Linked DNA regions of Homo sapiens: regions 1 and 2 are each linked to region 3. The links are contacts of gene promoters, found by promoter capture Hi-C in human tissues and cell types (Jung and others, 2019). All regions are on one chromosome and are shown on one strand. Each heading gives the region's core, a stretch centred on a gene start or on the middle of the fragment in contact. The rest is flanking DNA. Distances are from core to core; before and after follow the strand shown. Region 1 overlaps SCAI (suppressor of cancer cell invasion). Region 2 overlaps SCAI (suppressor of cancer cell invasion). Region 3 holds the start of PPP6C (protein phosphatase 6 catalytic subunit).

Region 1 (3,433 bases), core at 217-2,716, 160 kb after region 3:
GAGGATAGAATAGTGCAGAACAGTAATACCATCTACATATCGATTTCTAGGTATATTTTCTAAAGCAGTGTTTTTCAAACATTCAGCTGAGTTCTTAGCTGAAGATAAACATTTGGAAGTTGTCAGTATATAAGTGAGTGTGAATAAGATCACCGAGGGAGAGGGAAGAGAGGACCAGAAACCTCATGGGAGAAGCATCTGCAAAGAACACTAAGAACGACCTGTCAGAGAAGTAGGGAGGAGAATAGGAAAAGAGCATGTCCTGGACCCTAGTTATAGAATTATTTCTGCTCCAAAAAGTGTAACTTTTTTAAAAAAGAAAGCCTGAATGCAAGCATTTTTCATCTGTCTGGTTTGTACCATCACAAGACATAATTTCCAAATAGAATAAGAAGTTTAATATTAATACATACTCATTTACTATTACAGAGATTTGCCACAATATGGACAGAAGCAGTGGCAGTCCTATTTTGGAAGAACTTTTGATGTTTACACCAAACTCTGGAAGTTCCAGCAGCAGCATCGGTAAATGAATTTTATAGTTAAAGGAGAGTGAAGGCCTGTTTTGTATTAGTCACAGTTTTTATCTTCACTACTTCAGTGCTTTTTGTCTTGGTGCTTTTTCTTTTTTTTCACCAACAAAGCAAAGGTAAATCTTGGTGCTTTTAAAATAACATATTTCATCTTTATAACCCAAATGAAAACAAATTTATTTCTTTCCTATTTATTTAAGATCTTAAAATGTATGGCCAGGCATGGTGGCTCATGCCTGTAATCCCAGCACTTTGGGAGGCCAAGGTGGGAGGATTGCTTGAGCTCAGGAGTTTGAGACCAGCCTTGGCAGCATGGCTAAACCCTATCTCTACAAAATACACAAAAATTAGCCAGGTGTGGTGGTGCTCAGCTGTAATCCCAGCTACTTAGGAGGCTGTGGCACGAGAATCGCTTGAACCCTGAAGTGGGGGAGGTTGCAGTGAGCAGAGATTGCATCACTGCATTCCAGCTTGGGCAACAGAGAGAGACCCTGTCTCAAAAAAGTAAATAAATAAATAAAAATAAATAATAAAATAAGGCTGGGTGCAGTGGCTCCTGTCTGTAATCCCAGCACTTTAGGAGTCTGAGGTGGGTGGATAACTTGAGGTTAGGAGTTCAAGACCAGCCTGGCTAACATGGTGAAACCCTGTCTCTACTAAAAATATAAAAATTAGTCGGGCATGGTGGTGCACACCTGTAATCCCAGCTATTCAGGAGACTGAGGCAGCAGAATTGCTGGAACCTGAGAGGCGGAGGTTGCAGTGAGCCCAGATCATGCCACTGTACTCCAGCCTGGGCAACAGAGCCACACTCTGTCTCAAAAAAGGAAAAAAAAGAGTAATGTTCTTGTCCGATTTTTAAAGACAATATTATATGTGGAATGGTTCAGATCAGCTAGAGCATAGGTAGGATGATTTATGGTTTCATTCTAAAATATATGTTTATTGGCCAAAGTAGTTTCTTTTTATATTTCAACTTATAAATAGACATTTAATAAATGCTTTTTAAATTTAATGGAATGACTACATTGAAATCTAATGAAAAATTCATTAGCTTTGCTGAATTGGATGGTATTTTATCCTATTGAATTTACAGATTTGATTAGTTTTGGAATTTATAGACTCATTTCTATTTTCTTGTATCCTATATAAAACAGACAAGTCTTGGATAATCGGTATGGCTTGAAGCGCTGGCAAATAGGAGAAATTGCTTCCAAGATTGGGCAGCTATACTATCATTATTAGTAAGTAAATTACACATGGAAAGAGTAAAGTGTTGTCTGATTAAAACACAGCATGCAGAAGTATACATACATAGTATACTCATTGCTAGGCATGAAAATCACGAGTTACAAATGAAACTCTAGTAGTTCGGACCAGATTGATCAAGACAATGTTGTGCAATAACCTTCCATAGTCAAAGTACTATTTGTTTTAAAGGCTTGCCTCCCAAACACTTCATTTGGTCAGACTCATTTATAACTTAAAAATTTGATCTTGGTTTTAGATAAACGATTAATACTAAAGGATTTATTGTTCTTGCAGCTTCACTTGTCTTAATAATGTGTAGCATTGTATTATAACTTGTATATGTGAATGAATGGTTTTCAGAAGGATACTTTAAAAAACTCATACTTGCAGGATATGTTTGAAAGATATTTTTTATTATATCCTTAGAGCACTAACATCTATATAGTCCCATCCCTGAGTTCAGAAAACAAGAAGGGTCCTTTTAGGAATCTAAATGTCATCATCCTGAAGTGATAATCAGGTATACAATAAAAAAGGCTTGGACCATTTGTAATCTAAAAGGCAATAAAATGGCTGGGCGTGGTGGCTCACGCCTGTAATCCTAGGACTTTGGGAGGCCAAGGCAGGTGGATCACCTGAGGTCAGGAGTTTGAGACCAGCCTAGTGAAACCCCGTCTCTACTAAAAAGACAAAAAAATTAGCCAAGTGTGGTGGCAGGTGCCTGTAATCCCAGCTACTTGGGAGGCTGAGGGAGGAAAATTGCTTGAACCTGGGAGGCAGAGGTTGCAGTGAGCCGAGATCATGCCATTGGCACTCCAGCCTGGGCAACAAGAGTGAAACTCTGTCTCAAAAAATAAAAAATTAGAAAAAAGAAAAGAAAAGAAAAGGCAATAAAACTTCTTCCATTTCCTACATTTTGGCATACCGCTCCAAATTCCCACCACTAAAATCACTCTCTTGGGTAGAATATTTTCTTAAAAAGTCCCTTGTAAAACTAGAAGTGTTTTCTCAGGTAGAAATGTTTTCTTAAAAAGTCCCTTGTAAAACATAATTCATTAACATCCCCTGAAGATTCGTATGGATTAGTGCATTCCTCAGTTCTGTGAGGACAGAAATTAAAGAAATGGGCCAAAGGACTGTATGGATTTGAGGAAGTGGCCTAGTCCTGGGAGAGGATTTCACTGGATGGAATGCTGTTTGGAGAGTCCCTTCAAAGAATGAGGATAATGTGTAATATGGGTTGGCATCAAAAAAGGCTTGGATGCAGCGAGGAGGTTTTTAAAAAAATTTCATTATTATTTTTTATACATTTTAAGGGTGATATGATTATTGTCTTGCCGATTCAAATTTAGGACAGTCATTCCCACCCCCGCACCCCGTGCCACAGAGGAATACAGCGGTATATAGAACAAGTATTTACCATGGTGAAGAGTCTCTGACACTGTCATATTTAAAAATATATTTTTTCTCATAGCTTACGCACATCGGAAACCAGCTATCTGAATGAGGCTTTTTCCTTCTATTCTGCAATCAGACAGAGATCATATTATTCTCAAGTCAATAAAGAGGACAGGTATGTATCTGCTATGTTTTTAGAAAGATGAGGATAAAACATTCAGTCTTAATCTTCGTAGAAATTGTGTGGAAAA
Region 2 (3,444 bases), core at 328-2,827, 130 kb after region 3:
TGGTCGGAGAATAGGTACGTGTGTGCTAGTGGAAGGTGAGACTGGAAAGATAGATTTTGAAGAATGTCAGATGCTAGTGATTCTTCACCAGTTCTTGTGTTATGAGTAATTTACCAGTAATGACAGTTAACCTCAGGATAAATTTTCTGCAGTGTAATTGATAGATCTCATAGAATGACCATTTAATGTCCCCTCATACATTCAGGGAAACTTATGGGTTTGAACTAATTTACACTGCCTCTAGCAACTATGCTGGTTTCAGTGCATGTTCAACTGCTATAATTAGTGTAGTTTTAATGTGCTCATTTTGCTGCATTAGGTTTGTATTTTGTTACTGTATTTTACTGTGTTTGTATTTTGTTCACCAATTCATCATTGGTGGTTGAACATTTTTCTTATTAACATTGAAATTTACTCCTGTCTAGTCCTTAGACCCCATTCAGGCCTTACCAGTTGTCTCAATAACATCCTTTACAGCAGAAGGATCCAGGGGAGAATCAGGCATTATACCTCAGTTTTCCCTTGTCTTTGAAGGAAAGTACTTGACATTTTTGAAGATTACAGGTTGGTTATTTTGTAGAATGTCCCCCAACTTGGTTTTGTCTGTTTCCTCATGATTAGACTCAGGCTACAGAACTTTGACAGGAACAGTACTTCTCATCGCATGGGACTTTGATTTGTCTGATTACTAATGATGTTCACTTTGATCATTTGATCAAGGCAGTGTCTGCTGGATTTTACTGCTGTGAAATTACTTTTTCCCTTGGAAGTAATGTGTAGTTTATGGGGGAAGTATTCTGAAACTATCCCATTCACTACCACACTTTCCATTTATTCACTCATTTATTTATATCTATATTGATTCATGATTTCTTATTTTGTTCAGTAGGTTATAATCCATTGCTATTACTATTGGTATTGATGCTGAAATTACCCTGTTTGGCCAGTGGGATCTCCTTCAAGCTTGATCCTATGTCTTTTTGACATTCTTTAGCATTCCTTGAGCACTTTCTTGCTTACTACCACAAGATATTCCAGATTGATCCTGTACTTTTTCTACCCCTGTGCTGTAATTAGTGAATTACAATTCTCCAGAGATGTCTGGTTCCTTTTATTGGAGAATGGTATTAGGGGCCAAGTGTTAGGTGCTAGAAACGTTCATACCACTGGGGAGGGAAGATGATCACTGCTCCAAGGCGCTCTCAGTAGATAGAATTACAGAGCTAGGGAGTATGCATCTGTGTGTGCTTATGTAGACACACACACCATGCATGTATGTCCATGTCTTCAGAAATCCATGAGTTCACTCATACTTACAGTTTATTTTTTTTGAAACGCAGTCTCGTTCTGTCGCCCAGGCTGAAGTACAGTGGCATGATCTCAGCTCACCTCAACCTCCGCCTCCCGGGTTCACGTGATTCTCCTGCCTCAGCCTTCCTAGTAGCTGGGGACTGCAGGCACACCCCACCATGCTGGGCTAATTTTTGTATTTTTTGGTGGAGATGGGTTTCACCATGTTGCCCAGGCTGGTCTCAAACTCCTGACCTCAAATGATCCACCCACCTTGGCCTCCCAGAGTGCTGGGATTACAGGCATGAGCCACTGTACCTGGCCCAGTTTCAATCCACAGAGTTCATTCTAACTTCTTCCATTTCCATATTTGCATCTCCCTTCTCTGCCAAGTGAGAACTCTGGGTCCCATTGCCTTTAATAAATCTTTTTTAAAAAAGAATTTTTTTTTTTTAAAGAAATGGGGTCTCATTCTGTCACTCAGGCTGAAGTGCAGTGGAGGGATCATAGCTCTCTGCACCCTTGAACTGCTGGCCTCAGTCGACTCTCCTGCCTCAGCCTCCTGAGTATCTGAGGTAGCTGAGTAGGCACCTGCCACCACATCTGGCTAATTTTTACATTTTTTGTAGAGACAAGATCTCACTGTATTGCCCAGGCAGGTCTCAAACTCCTAGCCTCAAGTGATCCTCCTGCTTCTGCCTCCCAAAGTGCTGGGATTACAGGCGTGAGCCACTGCATCTGCCCTTAATAGATCTTATTTGATCCTTCCCTCTTTATATAGCAAATCTCCCATTGCTGCTTTGAACCCTTCTATGTGGAGGTGCTCAGGCTCCTACTTTCCCTGCCAGTCCTCCACCCTCATGGGTGCCCTCCTCCTCCTCCACACTCGGCCTTCAACATCCTGTGCAAGCTGGCTCTGCCTGCGAATGGCCTCCTCACGTAGCTTATATTCCGACAACCATGCAGGTACCCTGTGATGTGGATACCCACTTGGTGGCTATAAGAGTGAATTTTTCAGGAAGGGAAGAGAATTCTGATTTCCTAAGTTTTACTTTAATGGTTCTAGCTGTGGGATTATTTTGACATTCTTTGAGTCCTTTCAATTTTAGGTGTTACATTTTCTCTAATTCTGGGAAATTTAGTCATTATTTCTGCAAATATTTCTTCACTCTCATTTGTGTTTTTCTCTCCTCCTGTGTAAGCTATTGTGTGGCAGTTGATTTCCCTCATTTCTCTATCTTATCTCTTGCTTTTTCTTTTATATATTTAATCTCTTTCTACTGTCTTTTGGCAGAGTACCCCAAATCTGATATTTTAGCTTATTTATTTGTTCAACTGTATCCTTTCTGTTCTTCAGTCCATCTATTAAAATTCATTATTTCACCAATTGTATCACATTATTTCAGTGACTATATTTTGTCTGCCTATTTTTACATCCTACACCAGGACCAAATTTTCCTGTTGTTCCAGGAATTTCTGTCTGTGTGTAAACACAAATCAGTTTTTAAAATTTAGGTTTGTATTGTACATACTGTCTGACAACTTACTGTTGTTTTCTGTTTTTACATGGCAGCTTTATGAAATTTATTACAAGTGGAGATAGTTTCAATATAGTTTTAATATACGTCTGTGTGTGTACGTGTGTGTGTATGTATATGTGTGTGTGTGATTTTATATCCCTTTTATACTGAAGTGTACTCATACCATTGCCTCACCTTCTTAAACAGAGTTGTAAGTTAGTGATTGGGTAGAGTGCAGTGGTCAGTATTCCTAACCATTTTAGTCTTTGGGGCCTTTAGGTTGTTTTCAATTTTTAAATGTTATGATACTAAAATAAATACACGGATAAAGTGTTTTCCCATTTGTGGGATCATTTTCCAGAAGGATTTATAGAGTGGATCAAATGGACAAATAAATCAATATTTTTAGATTGTTAACCATGTAGAGGAATGCCTAGAACATAACAGGCATTCAAATAATATTTATTAGAGGAAAGGATATTATAAAAATTGCTTTCTAATATGGTTCCAATTTTCATCCATACCAATGATAGGAGATGATCTATTTTCTTTCTTTTTTTCTTTGTTTTTTGAGATGGTGTCTCGCTCTGTCACCCAGGCTGGAGTGCAATGGCACGTCTCGGCTCACTGCAAC
Region 3 (3,505 bases), core at 880-3,379:
CCTCAACAATTTTTTTTTTTTTTCTGTTGGCCAGGCTGGAGTGCAGTGGCACGACCTCAGCTCCCTGTAACCCCCACCTCAAAGCAATTTTCATGCCTCAGACTCCGGAGTAGCTGGGATTACAGGCATGTGCTACAATGCCCAGCTAATTTTTGTATTTTTAGTAGAGATCAGGTTTCACCATGTTGGCCAGGATGGTCTTGAATTCCTAGCCTCAAGATATCTGCTCACCTTGGCTTCACTACTGGGATTACAAGTTTGAGCCACTGCACCCGGCCTCAACAAAAACAAAAATTTTAATTACCTCACCCTATGCATCTCTTCATTTGTATCCTTTGTAATATCCTTTATATTAATAATAAACCAGTAAATGTAAATAAATAAATAAATACTGTTTGTCTCTTCCCAGCAGATTGTAAGCCTGATTAGGGCAGGGATCATATCTGTTTTATTCACATCATAAGCACTGTGTAACCTCTGGTTTCTTTTCTCTTTGAGATGGAGTTTCACTCTGTGGCCCAGGCTGGAGTACAGTGGCGCCATCTCAGCTCACTGCAACCTCTGCCTCAAGCAATTCAAGTGATCCTCCTGCCTCAGCCTCCCCAGTATTTTGTATTTTTAGTAGAGATGGGGTTTCGGCATGTTGGCCAGGCTGGTCTTGAACTCCTGACGTCAGGTGATCTGCCTGCCTTGGCCTCCCAAAGTGCTGAGATTACAGGCATTAGCCACCGCGGCCTGGCCAATAGGCACTATGTAACTATTAGTTTAATGAATGAAGAAATGAATGCTTGTGGGCATCATTCATTCTGCAACAAACTTCTAAAAATTAATTTTACTTTGAAACAATTTCATACTTTCAGAGGAGTTACAAGAATAATACAAAGAAGTTCACCCAGATATCTCATTCAGGGTTAGCCAATTGTCCACAAAATATACTTTAGAGAGCAAGAGGATTAATTCCAGGGTCTCTTGAGCAACAAATATTTATTGAGCGCCTGCTACTATTGGATTACATAACAGTCTCTTAACTGGTCTCTTAGCTATAGGCATTGCACCCCCACCCCTAGTCCCATACAGCAGCTCCTTTTACTAATTTATTTTTGAGGAGGATCTCGCTCTGTCGCCCAAGCTGGAGTGCAGTGCCGCGATCTCAGCTCACTGCAACCTCCGCCTCCCAACTCAAGCGGTTCTCCTGCCTCAGCCTCCAGAGTAGCTGGGACCACAAGCACGCACTACCGCGCCAGGCTAATTTTGGTACTTTTTGTAGCTACAGATAGAATAGAGATCTTTGTCTATTTTGTTCACGAAGTACTGCAAGCGCCTTGAGCTGTACCTGGCACATCTTTGTTGCTCAGCAAAGAGTGGTTGGATAAACGAACGCTGAAGGTATGCTAGTACCAGGTACTGTTCTCGGTGCTGGAGTTACAGCAAAAAACTCCCTGCCCTCGTGGGATTCTCACTGGAAGCATGCTTAAGCTTAAGCCATTTTTCAATCTTGACCCCACCATTTTGTTCCCTGTGAGATTTGGGGTGAACTGCAGTTTCCTAGCCTCACTTTCCTATCAATCGTTACGAAGATTAAAAGGAAAAATATCATTTGTATCGCATTTAGCATCAGAAATGCTTTAATAATATTCGTTTCCCTTCCTTTCAGGCTGGAAGACTGGGGCCTGACATCTCTGCCACAGGCTTAGGCGAGGTTTTCACAGGGACTTGGAAAGGTGCAAACGGTTACTACGGCCAGGCTTACCCAATTGTTAAGTGAAGATATTCTGGAGAGTGCTTAAAAGGGTTGGAAAAACAAACCAGTGAGTGGCTAGGACCACCTACTCCGCTGTTTTGCCTCGGAAAAGCCTCGCCGGCTGCCGGGAGGTGAAAGTCTGGAGGAACGGGAGGAAAAGAGAGGGGTGGCTGTCCACAACAGAAAACTACACATCCCAGCACCCCCGCGGCAGACGACTACGGGTCCCAGCAGGTTTCGCGGGGTGGACCGAAGCGGGCTCTCTTGGGGCCTGCAGTCGGGGTTCAGCCAGAGGGGGCGCCGGGCGTACCGACGTAGCGGGGAGAAACGGGTCGCGCTTTAACGGCGCTGCGCAGGCGCCACTCACGGGCCGGACGTGACGCAGGGAAAGTTCCGGCTTCGGCCTCCGCCGCTGCCGCCGCCGCTGCTACAGCCGCCGCCGCCGCTGTTGCCGCGGCTTGTTATTCTTAAAATGGCGCCGCTAGACCTGGACAAGTATGTGGAAATAGCGCGGCTGTGCAAGTACCTGCCAGAGAACGACCTGAAGGTGAGCCCTATTTGCGGGCTCGCCCCTTCCGGCTGTGGGGCGCCCGCCGGCCGGCCCTTCCTTTCTCCAGGACCCCCGCCGGGTATCCAGTCCAGTCGCGGTGGAGGGCCTCCCCCATTGCCAGTCGACCCGGTCCTACCCGGCGTCACGCCGAGGGTCTCGCGAGCCGAGTCGTCGAATGCTGTCCCGGTTGCCTCAGTGGGGATCCCGAGGGATGTCGCGGCCTCTGTCCCAGGGTCGCCCCTTCTGGCCTTCGGGCTGCCCCAGGACCCGCAGCTGTAACAGCTTTATTTAGAAGGCTCGGCTCCCCACCCCATCCCTGGGTCTCCCGCAGTCGGAGCCGAGCCCCCGCGGCAGTGCCCTCGGGATGGGGTCGCCTCCACCGGAGGTGACAGGAGCGCGGAGTGGCCGGCGTCTGACAGGAGATGCCACCGGCTACCGGAACGCGGCCTCAGTGTGTTTAGGTCTCTGAGGAAGGGGAAGGCGGTGGGCCCGAGTGGTTTGGTACTGGCGGGAGCGAACGTCAGGTCGTCCCTCTTCATTGCCACTCCTCCAAATTGCTTTTTAGGATCGTCGGTTTTGCTAATTCAGAGGTGAATCCCGTTTCTGAGTATGTTGTTGAGCTTACTGAAGTGGATAAAGTAGTTGGTTCTCAATAAATACAAATACTTTCTCCTTAACCCCTTCTTAACTCAGTATTTCATTTTCTTCGTTTTCTAAAGGAGGTGAGTTCCTTGTTACTCCTGAGTCCAAGTAAGAGTAAATGTATGTATGGGTAAAGGAATGACTTTGGTATACTGCTTTTCTTTTTTAAAACTTTTTAATTATTATTATTATTATTATTATTATTGTTTTTAACTGAGATAGAGTCTCACTCTGTCACCCAGGCTGGAGTGCAGCGGTGCGATCTTGGCTCACTGCAACCTCCACTTCCCGGGTTCAAGCGATTCTCCTGCCTCAGCCTCCCGACTAGGTGGAATTACAGGCGCCCGTCACGACGCCCGGCTGTTTTGTATTTTTAGTAGAGACGGGGTTTCGCCATGTTGGCCAGGCTGGTCTTGAACTCCTGACCTCAAGTGATCCGCCCGCTTCGGCCTACCAAAGTGCTGGTATTACAGGCGTGAGCCACCGCGCCGGCCTAGGTATACTGCTTCTTTGAAAAGTGTTTCTATGCATTTGCTGAAATCAGAGCTTAGGTTTCTAGCAGTGCTTATCAG

Evidence for each region. Contacts are between HindIII fragments. The study calls those that stand out against the background at their distance.
Region 1: a contact is called between a fragment that was not itself captured here and the fragment with the promoter of PPP6C in region 3, in 3 of the 25 tissues and cell types used here (IMR-90 fibroblasts, dorsolateral prefrontal cortex and mesenchymal stem cells).
Region 2: a contact is called between a fragment that was not itself captured here and the fragment with the promoter of PPP6C in region 3, in 2 of the 25 tissues and cell types used here (IMR-90 fibroblasts and dorsolateral prefrontal cortex).

The regions. Positions count from the first base shown.
Region 1 is chr9:125,026,736-125,030,168 of GRCh38, reverse strand. SCAI (suppressor of cancer cell invasion) reads left to right here. Exons shown (of 18, transcript NM_001144877.3): 4 at 430-525; 5 at 1,691-1,777; 6 at 3,259-3,357. Among named protein-coding and RNA genes, the nearest start is that of GOLGA1, 87 kb to the right of the region's middle. The HindIII fragment of the contact is 7,974 bases long and covers 1-3,433 here.
Region 2 is chr9:125,056,402-125,059,845 of GRCh38, reverse strand. The region is part of intron 2 of SCAI (suppressor of cancer cell invasion); the gene reads left to right. Among named protein-coding and RNA genes, the nearest start is that of SCAI, 85 kb to the left of the region's middle. The HindIII fragment of the contact is 7,319 bases long and covers 1-3,444 here.
Region 3 is chr9:125,188,427-125,191,931 of GRCh38, reverse strand. It overlaps PPP6C (protein phosphatase 6 catalytic subunit), which reads left to right and starts at 2,129. Exons shown (of 7, transcript NM_002721.5): 1 at 2,129-2,288. The coding sequence starts at 2,214. RefSeq lists enhancers at 1,852-1,931, 1,234-2,020, 2,021-2,807. The HindIII fragment of the contact is 9,567 bases long and covers 1-3,505 here.